Regions from separate parts of the Homo sapiens genome. Here all the other regions are linked to region 1. Evidence: promoter capture Hi-C in 16 types of primary human blood cells and fetal thymus (Javierre and others, 2016). All regions are on one chromosome and are shown on one strand. Each heading gives the region's core, a stretch centred on a gene start or on the middle of the fragment in contact. The rest is flanking DNA. Distances are from core to core; before and after follow the strand shown.

Region 1 (3,438 bases), core at 74-2,573:
CCATGACCTCCCCCCCAACCCCCAACCCCCCATTCACCGTGCCCCCAGCACCCACCATGCCTCCACATTCACCGTGCCCCCAGGGCCCACCATGACCTCCCCCCCAACCCCCAACCCCCCATTCACCGTGCCCCAGGGCCCACCATGACCTCCCCCCCAACCCCCAACCCCCCATTCACCGTGCCCCCAGGGCCCACCACGCCTCCATGTGCACTGTGCCCCCTGGGGCCCACGGTGTCAAGCTGGGTGGTCAGTGGGTGTCCATTCTCTCTCCCTCTGCACAGACAGGCAAATGGGGGGCAGAGAGAGGGGTTTTAGGGGATACAGGGAGGCAGCTTCAGCCCTCGCTGGTCTCCAGGCCACAGTGGTTCACTCACCCCTCCTCCCACCTCGGCAGCCCTGGGATGTCGCTGCTGACTCAGGAGGAACCCGAGGTGCCGTAGCGGCTGCTCCAATATTGCAGAAGAGGTTCCTCAGGCAGCTCTGCCCACAGCCCCAAGTCACGAATTCCGTGACTCCAGCTCCATCCCAGGCCCCAGGGTACCTGGCCCAGGGTTGTGCTGCCGCAGACTTGGCCTGTACCATCCAGGCGGCGGTGGGGAGCTGGGGTTGGAAAGGCTTCTTGGAGTGGACTCCTGGGTCTGTCTGGGAGACGGGGAGGAAGGGACACTCTGAACATCACCAGGGGCTGCTGGGGGGCCCTGGCCACCCCCAGAGTCAGAACAGGCAGGTGGGGCAGGATCTCAGGTCATCCTATGCTACACTCAGCCATTGCGTGGCCCCTCTCCTCCCTGTGCCTGGCCTTTTGGCCAGCCCTGGGGCCACCGAGAGGATGCAGCACCGAACCCTCCAGGAGCCCCCAGTGCTGCCGTCTGTGGGACAGGGACAATCCCATCCCCACTGCTACTGTCTGTGCTGTGCTGGGCACAGAGCTGGACACCTCCAAGGCCCAGCGCCCGTAGTGGCTCTCATCATGGACAATTCACAGGCAGATGGTGGCCAGCTCTGTGGCCTGCAGGGACTGGGAGCGGCGCCAGACCATCTAGGCCCCAACCTATCTGCATTATCCTGGAAGACTTCCTGGAGGAGGCTTCTAAGCTGAGGCCCAAGGACCATGTCAGGTCTAGGACTAGGACCAGTGCAGGCCGAGGCCAGAGAGACAGCTGGGCTTCCAGGTAGGGTCAAAGTGAGGTGGGCAGCAGGTGTGGGGGCCAGGGGACTCGGGGACTTCCTCTCCGGCTGGGCCCGCCTGACGTGGGAGGCAGCCAGGGTTAATCATTTCCACGAAGCCTTGACCCCACCTGCCTTGGCCGCTCTGCTCCCGCCTCCCACTGCCCCTCAGGCCAGCTCAGGAGCCATGGGGCGCTGGGCCTGGGTCCCCAGCCCCTGGCCCCCACCGGGGCTGGGCCCCTTCCTCCTCCTCCTCCTGCTGCTGCTGCTGCTGCCACGGGGGTTCCAGCCCCAGCCTGGCGGGGTGAGCACTGACCTTGTCGCAGTGCGACCAGAGGTTCCCAGTGGCTACTTGGGGTCCTTGGGAGGAGGCCAGAGGGAGGGTCGCCACAGAGCGTGGGGATTTGAGGGGGCGGGGGTCCGAGCAGGGGGCTTACGTTGAAAGCTGGCCCTCACAGGGCAGGTGGGTGCTGGACTGGCCTTGGAGGCTGGGGCCTGGGCTCACGGAGCCCCACCTGGGGGCTGTCATCCCTGTGCGGCCTGGCCTGGGCCCCTATGGGTCTGGGGGCTGCCCCCTCTCTCTGGACCTCTGTTGGGTCTGGATGCGTGAGGTTGGGGGAACCTCCCAGGGCCTCCTAGCTGCTCCCATCACCAAAAACTGACGTCAGGGTTTAAGCTTGGTGGGTAGCAGTGCCTGGGCCTGGGCAGTGACCCTGAGCAGGTGTTAACTAGGGGCCGAGGGCGGGGAAGGTGTCAGGGCCTGGCTGAGGCCTCAGGAATGTCGTGTGTCCTCCTGGAACCTGCTCCGAGATCTGGGGGCCCCAGTATGGAAACAGGCTCAGGGCTGTGACCTCCTGCCCGGCAGGACCTGAGTGTGAGGGTCTGTCCCACACTGACACCCTTTCTGCTCCTCCTAGAACCGTACGGAGTCCCCAGAACCTAATGCCACAGCGACCCCTGCGATCCCCACTATCCTGGTGACCTCTGTGACCTCTGAGACCCCAGCAACAAGTGCTCCAGAGGCAGAGGGACCCCAAAGTGGGGGGCTCCCGCCCCCGCCCAGGGCAGTTCCCTCGAGCAGTAGCCCCCAGGCCCAAGGTGGGTCAGGTGGGCCTGGGAGGAGGTGTCGTGCTTCACCTTAGGGCTGGGTGGGAGGAGCATGGCTGCGGCTGGAGGTCCTGAGGGGCTCGGGTGCCCCTCGAGGGAGCCCTGACCCTGCCACCCCCTCCCCACAGCACTCACCGAGGACGGGAGGCCCTGCAGGTTCCCCTTCCGCTACGGGGGCCGCATGCTGCATGCCTGCACTTCGGAGGGCAGTGCACACAGGAAGTGGTGGGTCCGGGCAGCCGGGGCACCCGAGCTGGGGTCACCTGCCCCACGCTGCCTGCTTTTCTGGGAGCCGGGCACACAGTAGGCGCTCACCACGCAGCAGGCGGACCCAGTGAACCCAGAGACCCTCCAGGGTGGTGGGGTGGGGTGGGGGGCCTCTGCCTGGGACCCCCATGCACGCAGGTGTCGCCCCCCAGGTGTGCCACAACTCACAACTACGACCGGGACAGGGCCTGGGGCTACTGTGTGGAGGCCACCCCGCCTCCAGGGGGCCCAGGTGGGTGCTGGGTTGGGTAGCCTGGGGCGGGCAGGGGGCACTGGGCCAGGCCAGAAGGGCCAAGGGGAGGATGGGGCGGACCCGGGCAGGGGTCCTGGCTGGAGGGGAGCAGAAGAGGAGCTCTGGGATTAACCCCGGTGGGTGCCACTTAGGGCCAGAGCCTCTCCCAGGTGGGACCTGCGTCTCATGGTGGCTGCGCGGCCATCGCTGGGGCCAAGGCGCCGCCTGGTGGTGAGGCCGGGCCCTGCAGCCACACAGGCGTGCCCCAGGCAGGGGACAGGTGGGCAGGGTCTGTGGGGTGCGGTGCCAGCCGCCCTGCTCACATGGGTCCTGGGACACATGGGAGGGGTCTGCTGCCTGACAGTGTGGGTGTCAGGCTTCCAGGAAGCCACGTGCACAGCTGGGCCAGTGGCCCAGGTGTTGAGTGGGGGACGCTGGGAGGAAGGGGAGGTCTGTGCCCCTCCCAGGGACCTTGCACCCCGAGGGGCGTAGAGAGGGCCCCTTTGCTCTCAGAGCCCCTCACTGGGGCCTGATGGACGCCTTAGCAAGCAGAGAATGTCACAGAGGGACCCTGAGCCTCCCAGTCCGCCCCTCACACCCCCTCCCGCATGTCCCCAGCTGCCCTGGATCCCTGTGCCTCCGGCCCCTGCCTCAATGGAGGC
Region 2 (3,371 bases), core at 711-3,210, 200 kb before region 1:
AGTTGTCCTGGTGCTGACAGCACAGCCTTGCCCGGCGTGCCTGGCACGGCTCTGCCCTCACTGCATTGGAGCAGGGCTAGTGGAGGCCAGCGGAAGCACCGGCCACCAGCGCTGCACAGGAGCCAGGCCAGGTGAGTGCTGCCGAGTGGGTGCCCTGCCTGCAGGGCATCCAGCCAGCCAAGGGTTGCAGGAATGGAGGTGGAGGCGCTGATGCAGCTGGAGGCATCCAGGTGGCCCTTCCGGGGCTCTGCTCGCTCTCCAGGCTCCCTGGACCCCTTTGTAGACTGTTTCAGGAGAGGAACTCCCAGGTGAGGACAGGGAGGCAGCATTCCCCTCATTTGCCGGCCTTTTTCCTTAACTCCTGCACCAGCCTCCCACATGTCATCAGCAGGATGGGCAAGCTGGAGCAGGTGGACGTGAACCTTTTCTGCCTGGTCGCCACAGACTTCTACAGACACCAGATAGAGGAGGAGCTCGACCGCAGGGCCTTCCAGTCTGTGCTTGAGGTGGTTGCAGCCCCAGGAAGCCCATATCACCGGCTGCTGACTTGTTTACGAAATGTCCACAAGGTCACCACCTGCTGAGCGCCATGGTGGGAGAGACTGTGAGGCGGCAGCTGGGGCCGGAGCCTTTGGAAGTCTGCGCCCTTGTGCCCTGCCTCCACCGAGCCAGCTTGGTCCCTATGGGCTTCCGCACATGCCGCGGGCGGCCAGGCAACGTGCGTGTCTCTGCCATGTGGCAGAAGTGCTCTTTGTGGCAGTGGCCAGGCAGGGAGTGTCTGCAGTCCTGGTGGGGCTGAGCCTGAGGCCTTCCAGAAAGCAGGAGCAGCTGTGCTGCACCCCATGTGGGTGACCAGGTCCTTTCTCCTGATAGTCACCTGCTGGTTGTTGCCAGGTTGCAGCTGCTCTTGCATCTGGGCCAGAAGTCCTCCCTCCTGCAGGCTGGCTGTTGGCCCCTCTGCTGTCCTGCAGTAGAAGGTGCCGTGAGCAGGCTTTGGGAACACTGGCCTGGGTCTCCCTGGTGGGGTGTGCATGCCACGCCCCGTGTCTGGATGCACAGATGCCATGGCCTGTGCTGGGCCAGTGGCTGGGGGTGCTAGACACCCGGCACCATTCTCCCTTCTCTCTTTTCTTCTCAGGATTTAAAATTTAATTATATCAGTAAAGAGATTAATTTTAACGTAACTCTTTCTATGCCCGTGTAAAGTATGTGAATCGCAAGGCCTGTGCTGCATGCGACAGCGTCCGGGGTGGTGGACAGGGCCCCCGGCCACGCTCCCTCTCCTGTAGCCACTGGCATAGCCCTCCTGAGCACCCGCTGACATTTCCGTTGTACATGTTCCTGTTTATGCATTCACAAGGTGACTGGGATGTAGAGAGGCGTTAGTGGGCAGGTGGCCACAGCAGGACTGAGGACAGGCCCCCATTATCCTAGGGGTGCGCTCACCTGCAGCCCCTCCTCCTCGGGCACAGACGACTGTCGTTCTCCACCCACCAGTCAGGGACAGCAGCCTCCCTGTCACTCAGCTGAGAAGGCCAGCCCTCCCTGGCTGTGAGCAGCCTCCACTGTGTCCAGAGACATGGGCCTCCCACTCCTGTTCCTTGCTAGCCCTGGGGTGGCGTCTGCCTAGGAGCTGGCTGGCAGGTGTTGGGACCTGCTGCTCCATGGATGCATGCCCTAAGAGTGTCACTGAGCTGTGTTTTGTCTGAGCCTCTCTCGGTCAACAGCAAAGCTTGGTGTCTTGGCACTGTTAGTGACAGAGCCCAGCATCCCTTCTGCCCCCGTTCCAGCTGACATCTTGCACGGTGACCCCTTTTAGTCAGGAGAGTGCAGATCTGTGCTCATCGGAGACTGCCCCACGGCCCTGTCAGAGCCGCCACTCCTATCCCCAGGCCAGGTCCCTGGACCAGCCTCCTGTTTGCAGGCCCAGAGGAGCCAAGTCATTAAAATGGAAGTGGATTCTGGATGGCCGGGCTGCTGCTGATGTAGGAGCTGGATTTGGGAGCTCTGCTTGCCGACTGGCTGTGAGACGAGGCAGGGGCTCTGCTTCCTCAGCCCTAGAGGCGAGCCAGGCAAGGTTGGCGACTGTCATGTGGCTTGGTTTGGTCATGCCCGTCGATGTTTTGGGTATTGAATGTGGTAAGTGGAGGAAATGTTGGAACTCTGTGCAGGTGCTGCCTTGAGACCCCCAAGCTTCCACCTGTCCCTCTCCTATGTGGCAGCTGGGGAGCAGCTGAGATGTGGACTTGTATGCTGCCCACATACGTGAGGGGGAGCTGAAAGGGAGCCCCTCCTCTGAGCAGCCTCTGCCAGGCCTGTATGAGGCTTTTCCCACCAGCTCCCAACAGAGGCCTCCCCCAGCCAGGACCACCTCGTCCTCGTGGCGGGGCAGCAGGAGCGGTAGAAAGGGGTCCGATGTTTGAGGAGGCCCTTAAGGGAAGCTACTGAATTATAACACGTAAGAAAATCACCATTCCGTATTGGTTGGGGGCTCCTGTTTCTCATCCTAGCTTTTTCCTGGAAAGCCCGCTAGAAGGTTTGGGAACGAGGGGAAAGTTCTCAGAACTGTTGGCTGCTCCCCACCCGCCTCCCGCCTCCCCCGCAGGTTATGTCAGCAGCTCTGAGACAGCAGTATCACAGGCCAGATGTTGTTCCTGGCTAGATGTTTACATTTGTAAGAAATAACACTGTGAATGTAAAACAGAGCCATTCCCTTGGAATGCATATCGCTGGGCTCAACATAGAGTTTGTCTTCCTCTTGTTTACGACGTGATCTAAACCAGTCCTTAGCAAGGGGCTCAGAACACCCCGCTCTGGCAGTAGGTGTCCCCCACCCCCAAAGACCTGCCTGTGTGCTCCGGAGATGAATATGAGCTCATTAGTAAAAATGACTTCACCCACGCATATACATAAAGTATCCATGCATGTGCATATAGACACATCTATAATTTTACACACACACCTCTCAAGACGGAGATGCATGGCCTCTAAGAGTGCCCGTGTCGGTTCTTCCTGGAAGTTGACTTTCCTTAGACCCGCCAGGTCAAGTTAGCCGCGTGACGGACATCCAGGCGTGGGACGTGGTCAGGGCAGGGCTCATTCATTGCCCACTAGGATCCCACTGGCGAAGATGGTCTCCATATCAGCTCTCTGCAGAAGGGAGGAAGACTTTATCATGTTCCTAAAAATCTGTGGCAAGCACCCATCGTATTATCCAAATTTTGTTGCAAATGTGATTAATTTGGTTGTCAAGTTTTGGGGGTGGGCTGTGGGGAGATTGCTTTTGTTTTCCTGCTGGTAATATCGGGAAAGATTTTAATGAAACCAGGGTAGAATTGTTTGGCAATGCACTGAAGCGTGTTTCTTTCCCA
Region 3 (3,153 bases), core at 654-3,153, 230 kb before region 1:
TTCACCATGTTGGCCAGGCTGGTCTCAAACTCCTGACCTCAGGTGATCCGCCCACCTCGGCCTCCCAAAGTGCTGGGATTATAGGCCTGAGCCACCACGCCCGGCCTAAAATTGTTTATCTTAAGATTCATGCAGTGAAAGCTAACTTACTGAGTGATAAATTTGCTTAGTGATCTGTTTATTAGGTTTTCCAAATTTGCTAATTGGGCTTTGAACAGCTGTAAAAGTTCTGACTGTAAAAGAAAGCTTCAACTTTTGGCATTCATGATGCTTTTCTGAGTATTAAACTAAGATAGATGTTTTACCTGAAGGATCGGCCACCAATCTTTAAATGGCTAAACAAAAGGGTTGCTAAAACATAATCCAAATTGACATAAGAAATACCATTTTTCCAACCAAAATTTTGGCATTCATATGGCTACTTTTACGTATTTCAGCTGCATTTGAACATCTTTTTCAAACTTTAGGGTGGTTGGTGTATCACTGAGGTCTTGGATGACACTTTAGCTTTGATTTTGTTTTTATGAATTAAAATTGTCATACCAAAATTTTTATTTCAAGCAAATCCAAGAGCATAAAAAATTAAAATATTACTTAAAATACTAAGAGAGAACAGATATATATTTTACTAAGCATATGTTGAATGAAATTGTTCAAATATTTATAACAGGCATAGAGTAGAATTTTCTTAAAAATATTTTTGATGGTATACCAATTTGTATTTTCTCAGAAACATTTGCCTTATTCTTTTTTCTGTTGTGTTTTTCTTACCTGATTGAAAGCTCATAATCTGTTGTTATTGTTTGTTAACCTTTAATGCTCTGATTTCAGGAGTTCAACCTAAGCCTGCTAGCTCCATGCTTAAGCCTAGGGATGAGTGAAATTTCTGGTGGCCAGAAGAGTGCCCTTTTTGAAGCAGCCCGTGAGGTGACTCTGGCCCGTGTGAGCGGCACCGTGCAGCAGCTCCCTGCTGTCCATCATGTCTTCCAGCCCGAGCTGCCTGCAGAGCCGGCGGCCTACTGGAGCAAGTTGAATGATCTGTTTGGTAATTAAAATTAAAATTTATCTTATTTTTAAAAAGCATTCCAGGGCCAGTATAGTACTTTGCACCAAGTAAATGTACAATAAAGGCAGTGGATCTAATACATTGAAAGCGTTTACAGAGGTAGCTAAAGAGCAGCACGGGTGTCCTCGGCTCAGAATTTCTTCCTGTGTGTTTGCCACTTTGCCATTCATTGACATGGTCATGGACATAGGGCTCTAAGCCCTTGAGGAAGGCTGGGCCAGACCTCAGGGGAGATGCAGCCCCAAACCACGTGCAGTCCTGTGGACGGATGTGTAGATGTGCCACTGAGGAACAATGTCTTGAGCTTTCATCAGATTCTCAGAGAATTGCTTGACTGCCTTTCGAAGTTGATGCATCTGTGCTCACGTTTGCACCCACCCACGAGGTCCTTCTGTTTCAGGGGATGCTGCACTGTATCAGTCCCTGCCCACTCTGGCCCGGGCCCTGGCACAGTACCTGGTGGTGGTCTCCAAACTGCCCAGTCATTTGCACCTTCCTCCTGAGAAAGAGAAGGACATTGTGAAATTCGTGGTGGCAACCCTTGAGGTAAGAGGCAGCTCGGGAGCTCAGTGTTGCTGTGGGGAGGGGGCATGGGGCTGACACTGAAGAGGGTAAAGCAGTTTTATTTGAAAAGCAAGATCTCTGACCAGTCCAGTCACTTTTCCATCTCAGCCTGGCAGTAAGTCTTGTCACCGTCAAGTTATTGTAGCCATCCTTCACCCTCACCTCGCCACTCCTCATGGTGGCCTGTGAGGTCAGCCAGGTCCCCTTCTCATCTGCACCTACCATGTTAGGTGGATCCTAATTTTAGAGACATGAAAAATAATCATCTGGAAGTACTTTATGTCTTAAGTTGGCCTGGACATGTCAGCCAAGGAATACTTACTTGGTTTGTGTTAGTGCTTGTAATTCGCCCCCAGAATGTGTACACGTTCTGGATGCATTAAAGTCTGGCCTGTATCCTTAAAGGGCCATCGCTGTGCTGCCTGCCCTCAGCAAGGACACACTTTGCAGACCCACAGAGGCTCCGCCTCCACCTCACACCAAAGAAAGGGAGGAGTCCAAAGGGCATCAGTGCCATTACTCACAAAATGATAAATACACCCTTATTCTGAACCACGTGGAGTCATATGGTTTGTGATCCCTGTCCTTCAGGTTTCAGCTTAGTGGGGAAGTGGGAAAGTCAGCGTGTGATCACAGCACAGGGTGATTGCTGCTGATTATATTATGTGCCTGCTGTATGCAGGATGAAATACTTTATATGCGTCATCTTATTTGACTCTCACAACCCCCTGTGAGATAGGCTCTGTTACTCCCATTTGACAGGTGAGGAAAGCAAGGCTTAGAGAATTTCAGTGACTTGCCCAGGTCCTCTGAGCTAGGAAGTAGCCATTCTGGCATTTGAACCCAAGGCCTGCTATCCCTAGAACCCACGCTCTCAAATTCAACCTATGACAGAGGCAAGCCCTGGTGCTGTGGGAGCCCCAAGGAAGAGCCTCTGGCCTGGTGGCCACGTAGCCCAGGAGAGATTTCTACAGGAGCCCACAGCGCTGAAGGAGAGAGAGGCAGCAGAGTAAGGGGGCTTTGTGGCAGAGAGGGGACTGGCACTTTGGGGAATAGGTGGGTCAGGACTGAATGTAATGGAGCCATGTCAGAGCTGTCCTTCTGGAAGGGCAAGGGCACCTGGACGCGCTGCCCCTCAGTGCTTTGGACGGTTCCACAACTGTGATTCACACGGCTTCCCCAAACGAAGGTACACGAGTGGGCATTCTGTGACTCGGTACTTCCCTTTAGGCCCTGTCCTGGCATTTGATCCATGAGCAGATCCCGCTGAGTCTGGATCTCCAGGCAGGGCTGGACTGCTGCTGCCTGGCCCTGCAGCTGCCTGGCCTCTGGAGCGTGGTCTCCTCCACAGAGTTTGTGACCCACGCCTGCTCCCTCATCTACTGTGTGCACTTCATCCTGGAGGCCGGTGAGTCCCCGTCCATGAACGGTGGGTTCCTATCATAGTTCCTGTCTGCTTCACCATGTTTTTATTTTGTGCTGCCTGTTTGCCAGGTACTAAGCTAGGAATTGGGGATGGAGAG
Region 4 (3,254 bases), core at 125-2,624, 180 kb before region 1:
GTCGTGAGGGTGTAAGGAGCGGCGGCAGTGGTGGGAGGAGGGAGCAGCAGCCAGCGCTACGGTGCCAGTTTCCAGCTGCCAGATGACGCCGCTGACCCTGTGGTTGAGAAGAGATGCACAGAGCCAGCTCTTGCAAGCCAGTGTGGCTGCCATAGCACCTGCCGAGAAGCAGAAGGAAGGGTGGCCCCAGGAGGACAGAGGATGCGGGCACATCTGATGCGGGCCTGAGTTTTGGGAGCTTTTGCTCTAGCCAGTTTCCAGCTCCGGGACCCACCCGCCTCGTAGGCAAGACACCACCCAAGAAATCATTTGCTTAACAAACACACTGGGCTCCAACTGGACACCTGTGCCACCCTAGATGCTGGGAACCCAGCCATGACACAGGCACCTGCCCCCAGCTGCTGACCACTGAGGCTGGCTAGCAGCTCCCATGGGGCCAGTGTGGGGTTCCCCAGCCTCCTAACAGGGAGCCAGTCACAAGCCCTCGAGAGGGAAGGGTGCCCGCGGCCCTGGCAGGAAGGTTAGGCTGGACGCTCCCACAAGACATAACAGATGGAGGTTCTAAATGATGTAGCAACTTCTTCACCCTGAAACTGCTGTAGAGTCAGCCATGACGCACCGGTACTTCAGTAACTGCCAGGCATCCGGGACAGCACACCGCGAGTCGCTGCTGTGCTTGGGTTAGAAGTGGTTTGGTCTGTTTTCTTCTCGCCCTCTCTAATCAGAGTCAGTGATTCATGCCCTTCCATCACCTTAGAGAAGGGGCAGGCGCTGCCCGACCTTCTCCAGGCTGGAGCAGCATCGCCTCATGTCAGCAGAACTCAGCTGTAGAATATCGTGGGGTTGGTGCCTTTCATCAGCAGCATGTCCTTAACAACTTTCTGATTTCTTCCTTAGTTGTTGGTCCATTAAGGAGAAAAAAAATGATCTCAGCCATTGCTAAAATATTTGATAAGATTCAGCAAAGCAGCATGTTAACATTGAAAACTAGAATCAGGAGCCAGGCAGATGTGCTTGCTTTTCACCTGTAGTATTTCATGTTGTTTTGACGTTTTTAGCTAATGCATTAAGATAAATAAACAAAAGCCGGGCACGGTGGTTCACGCCTGTAATCCCAGCACTTTGGGAGGCTGAGGCGGGAGGATCCTCTGAGGTCAGGAGTTCAAGACCAGCCTGACCAACATGGAGAAACCTCGTCATTACTAAAAATACAAAATTAGCTGGGCGTGGTGGTGCATGCCTGTAATCCCAGCTACTTGGGAGGCTGAGGCAGGAGAATCGCTTGAACCCGGGAGGCGGAGGTTGCAGTGAGCTGAGATTGCACCACTGCACTCCAGCCTGGGTGACAGTGAAACTCGGTCTCAAAAAAAAAAAAAAATTAAAAAAAGATAAATAAAATAAGCAGGATAAGAAATGAAGAAAGTAGAGTTACCTTTGTTTTCAGATTTCATTTTTGTATACCCAGAAAGCCAAATGTACAAAAGACTGGGAGCTCTTTAAACCAGCTTAAACTTGTTGAAAATGAGGATGAAGAAATATCCCATTCAGAGTTGGAATGAATTTAACCCAGAAGGAACAGGACCTCTACTGAAGAGAACTATGCAGTCTTACTGAAAAATCTAAATAATACCTGAGCGCTGGAGAAACTTCGCACACTCCTGAAAGCTCCAAAGTCAATGTCATCATTTTATTAATGTCATTCCAAACATAGTCTCAATAATATCACTTCTTGGTTTTGACATGGACGCGATGATGTTTAAATTCATATGAAAAAAGAACGGGGCCAAAAGTCCAAGGCCAGTCAGCGTGAGAAGACCGCTCGGCCTCCCTCGGAGTCGGGGAGTTGGAACCGCAGACTGAGATCATGTGGCTGCTGGAGGCCAGGACGAACGTCGGGAAATGGAGACTCCTGCGTTGCTGGTGGGATGTGGTGCAGCCGCTTCCAGGAGCAATTTGGTGTCCCGTCCTAAAGCTGAAGAAACGCATTTCCTCTGGTCAGTGCCACTCCTAGACAGGCCACCCTGCGGCAGCCGTCCTCAAACTGGTCTGAGGACCCCTCAACGCTCTTAAAAATCATTAAAAGTGGGCCAGGTGCGGTGGCTCACACCTGTAATCCCAGCACTTTGGGAGGCCAAGACAGGCGGATCACGAGGTCAGGACATTGAGATCATCCTGGCTAACACGGTGAAACCCCGTCTCTACTAAAAATACAAAAAATTAGCCGGGCGTGGTGGCGGGCGCCTGTAGTCCCAGCTACTTGGGAGGCTGAGCCAGGAGAATGGCGTGAACCCAGGAGGTGGAGCTTGCAGTGAGCTGAGATCACTCCACTGCACTCCAGCCTGGGCAGCAGAGCGAGACTCTGTCTCAAAAAAAAATAATAAATAAATAAATAAAAATAAAATAAAATAAAATTCATTAAAAGTGCCAAAGAACTTTTGCTTATGTGAGTTCTAATGACCAATATTAATACACATTAGAATATCTTATTAGAAATTAAACCTGAGACCTTTAGAAAACATGTATTCATTTCAAAATAGCAATAAACCCATGACATATTAACATAAATAACAATTGTATGAAAAATATATTTTCCAAAACAAAAAGTTTTCGGGAGAAGTGTGGCATAGTTTTACATGGTCGTAAATCTCTGGCTTAAGAGAAGCCCACTGGCCTCTCAGCAGGCTCTGGGTCCGTCCACTTTGGGGGTGTTTTGGTTGTGAAGTATAGGAGTGAATGGAGAAGCTCATTCTTACCCAGATGTGTATTTGAAAAGAAAAGGAACATTTTAATAACCTTTGCAAATAATCGGTATATTCTTCCGTGATCCTATTCCAACACTGGACAGGTGGTGGTTTGTTTTTTTTTTTTGGAGACGGAGTCCCGCTCTGTCACTCAGGCTGGAGTGCAGTGGCGCGATTTCAGCTCACTGCAAGCTCCGCCTCCTGGGTTCACTGCAAGCTCTGCCTCCCGGGTTCACGCCATTCTCCTGCCTCAGCCTCCTGAGTAGCTGGGACTACAGGCGCCCGCCACCACACCTGGCTAATTTTTTGTATTTTTAGTAGAGATGGGGTTTCACTGTGTTAGCCAGGATGGTCTCAATCTCCTGACATCGTGATCCACCCGCCTCGGCCTCCCAAAGTGCTGGAATTACAGGTGTTAGCCCGGCCGACAGGTGGTGGTTTTTTACTGGCCGGTTGTGTGTGGAATCTGATACCCTATCAATGAACTTCTACTTCATTTCAGGAGAATCCATT

What was found. Contacts are between HindIII fragments. The CHiCAGO score rates a contact against its expected background, and 5 or more counts as called.
Region 2: a fragment that was not itself captured here is called in contact with the fragment with the promoter of HGFAC in region 1 in 2 of 17 cell types (M0 macrophages and endothelial precursors); the score reaches 7.3 in M0 macrophages.
Region 3: a fragment that was not itself captured here is called in contact with the fragment with the promoter of HGFAC in region 1 in 11 of 17 cell types (naive CD4 T cells, endothelial precursors, naive CD8 T cells and 8 more); the score reaches 12.9 in naive CD4 T cells.
Region 4: a fragment that was not itself captured here is called in contact with the fragment with the promoter of HGFAC in region 1 in 4 of 17 cell types (endothelial precursors, M1 macrophages, M0 macrophages and 1 more); the score reaches 8.3 in endothelial precursors.

Annotation. Positions count from the first base shown.
Region 1 is chr4:3,440,645-3,444,082 of GRCh38, forward strand. HGFAC (HGF activator) reads left to right here and starts at 1,324. Exons shown (of 14, transcript NM_001528.4): 1 at 1,324-1,474; 2 at 2,088-2,268; 3 at 2,406-2,502; 4 at 2,697-2,776; 5 at 3,395-3,438. The coding sequence starts at 1,358. RefSeq lists a silencer at 2,854-2,903. The HindIII fragment of the contact is 2,021 bases long and covers 1-1,844 here.
Region 2 is chr4:3,239,476-3,242,846 of GRCh38, forward strand. HTT (huntingtin) reads left to right here. Exons shown (of 67, transcript NM_001388492.1): 67 at 371-3,371. The coding sequence ends at 584. Among named protein-coding and RNA genes, the nearest start is that of MSANTD1, 8.0 kb to the right of the region's middle. The HindIII fragment of the contact is 461 bases long and covers 1,731-2,191 here.
Region 3 is chr4:3,211,098-3,214,250 of GRCh38, forward strand. HTT (huntingtin) reads left to right here. Exons shown (of 67, transcript NM_001388492.1): 48 at 832-1,045; 49 at 1,467-1,612; 50 at 2,861-3,038. Among named protein-coding and RNA genes, the nearest start is that of MSANTD1, 36 kb to the right of the region's middle. RefSeq lists enhancers at 2,354-2,854, 2,855-3,153. The HindIII fragment of the contact is 3,319 bases long and covers 245-3,153 here.
Region 4 is chr4:3,257,679-3,260,932 of GRCh38, forward strand. No RefSeq gene overlaps it. Among named protein-coding and RNA genes, the nearest start is that of MSANTD1, 10 kb to the left of the region's middle. The HindIII fragment of the contact is 4,206 bases long and covers 1-3,254 here.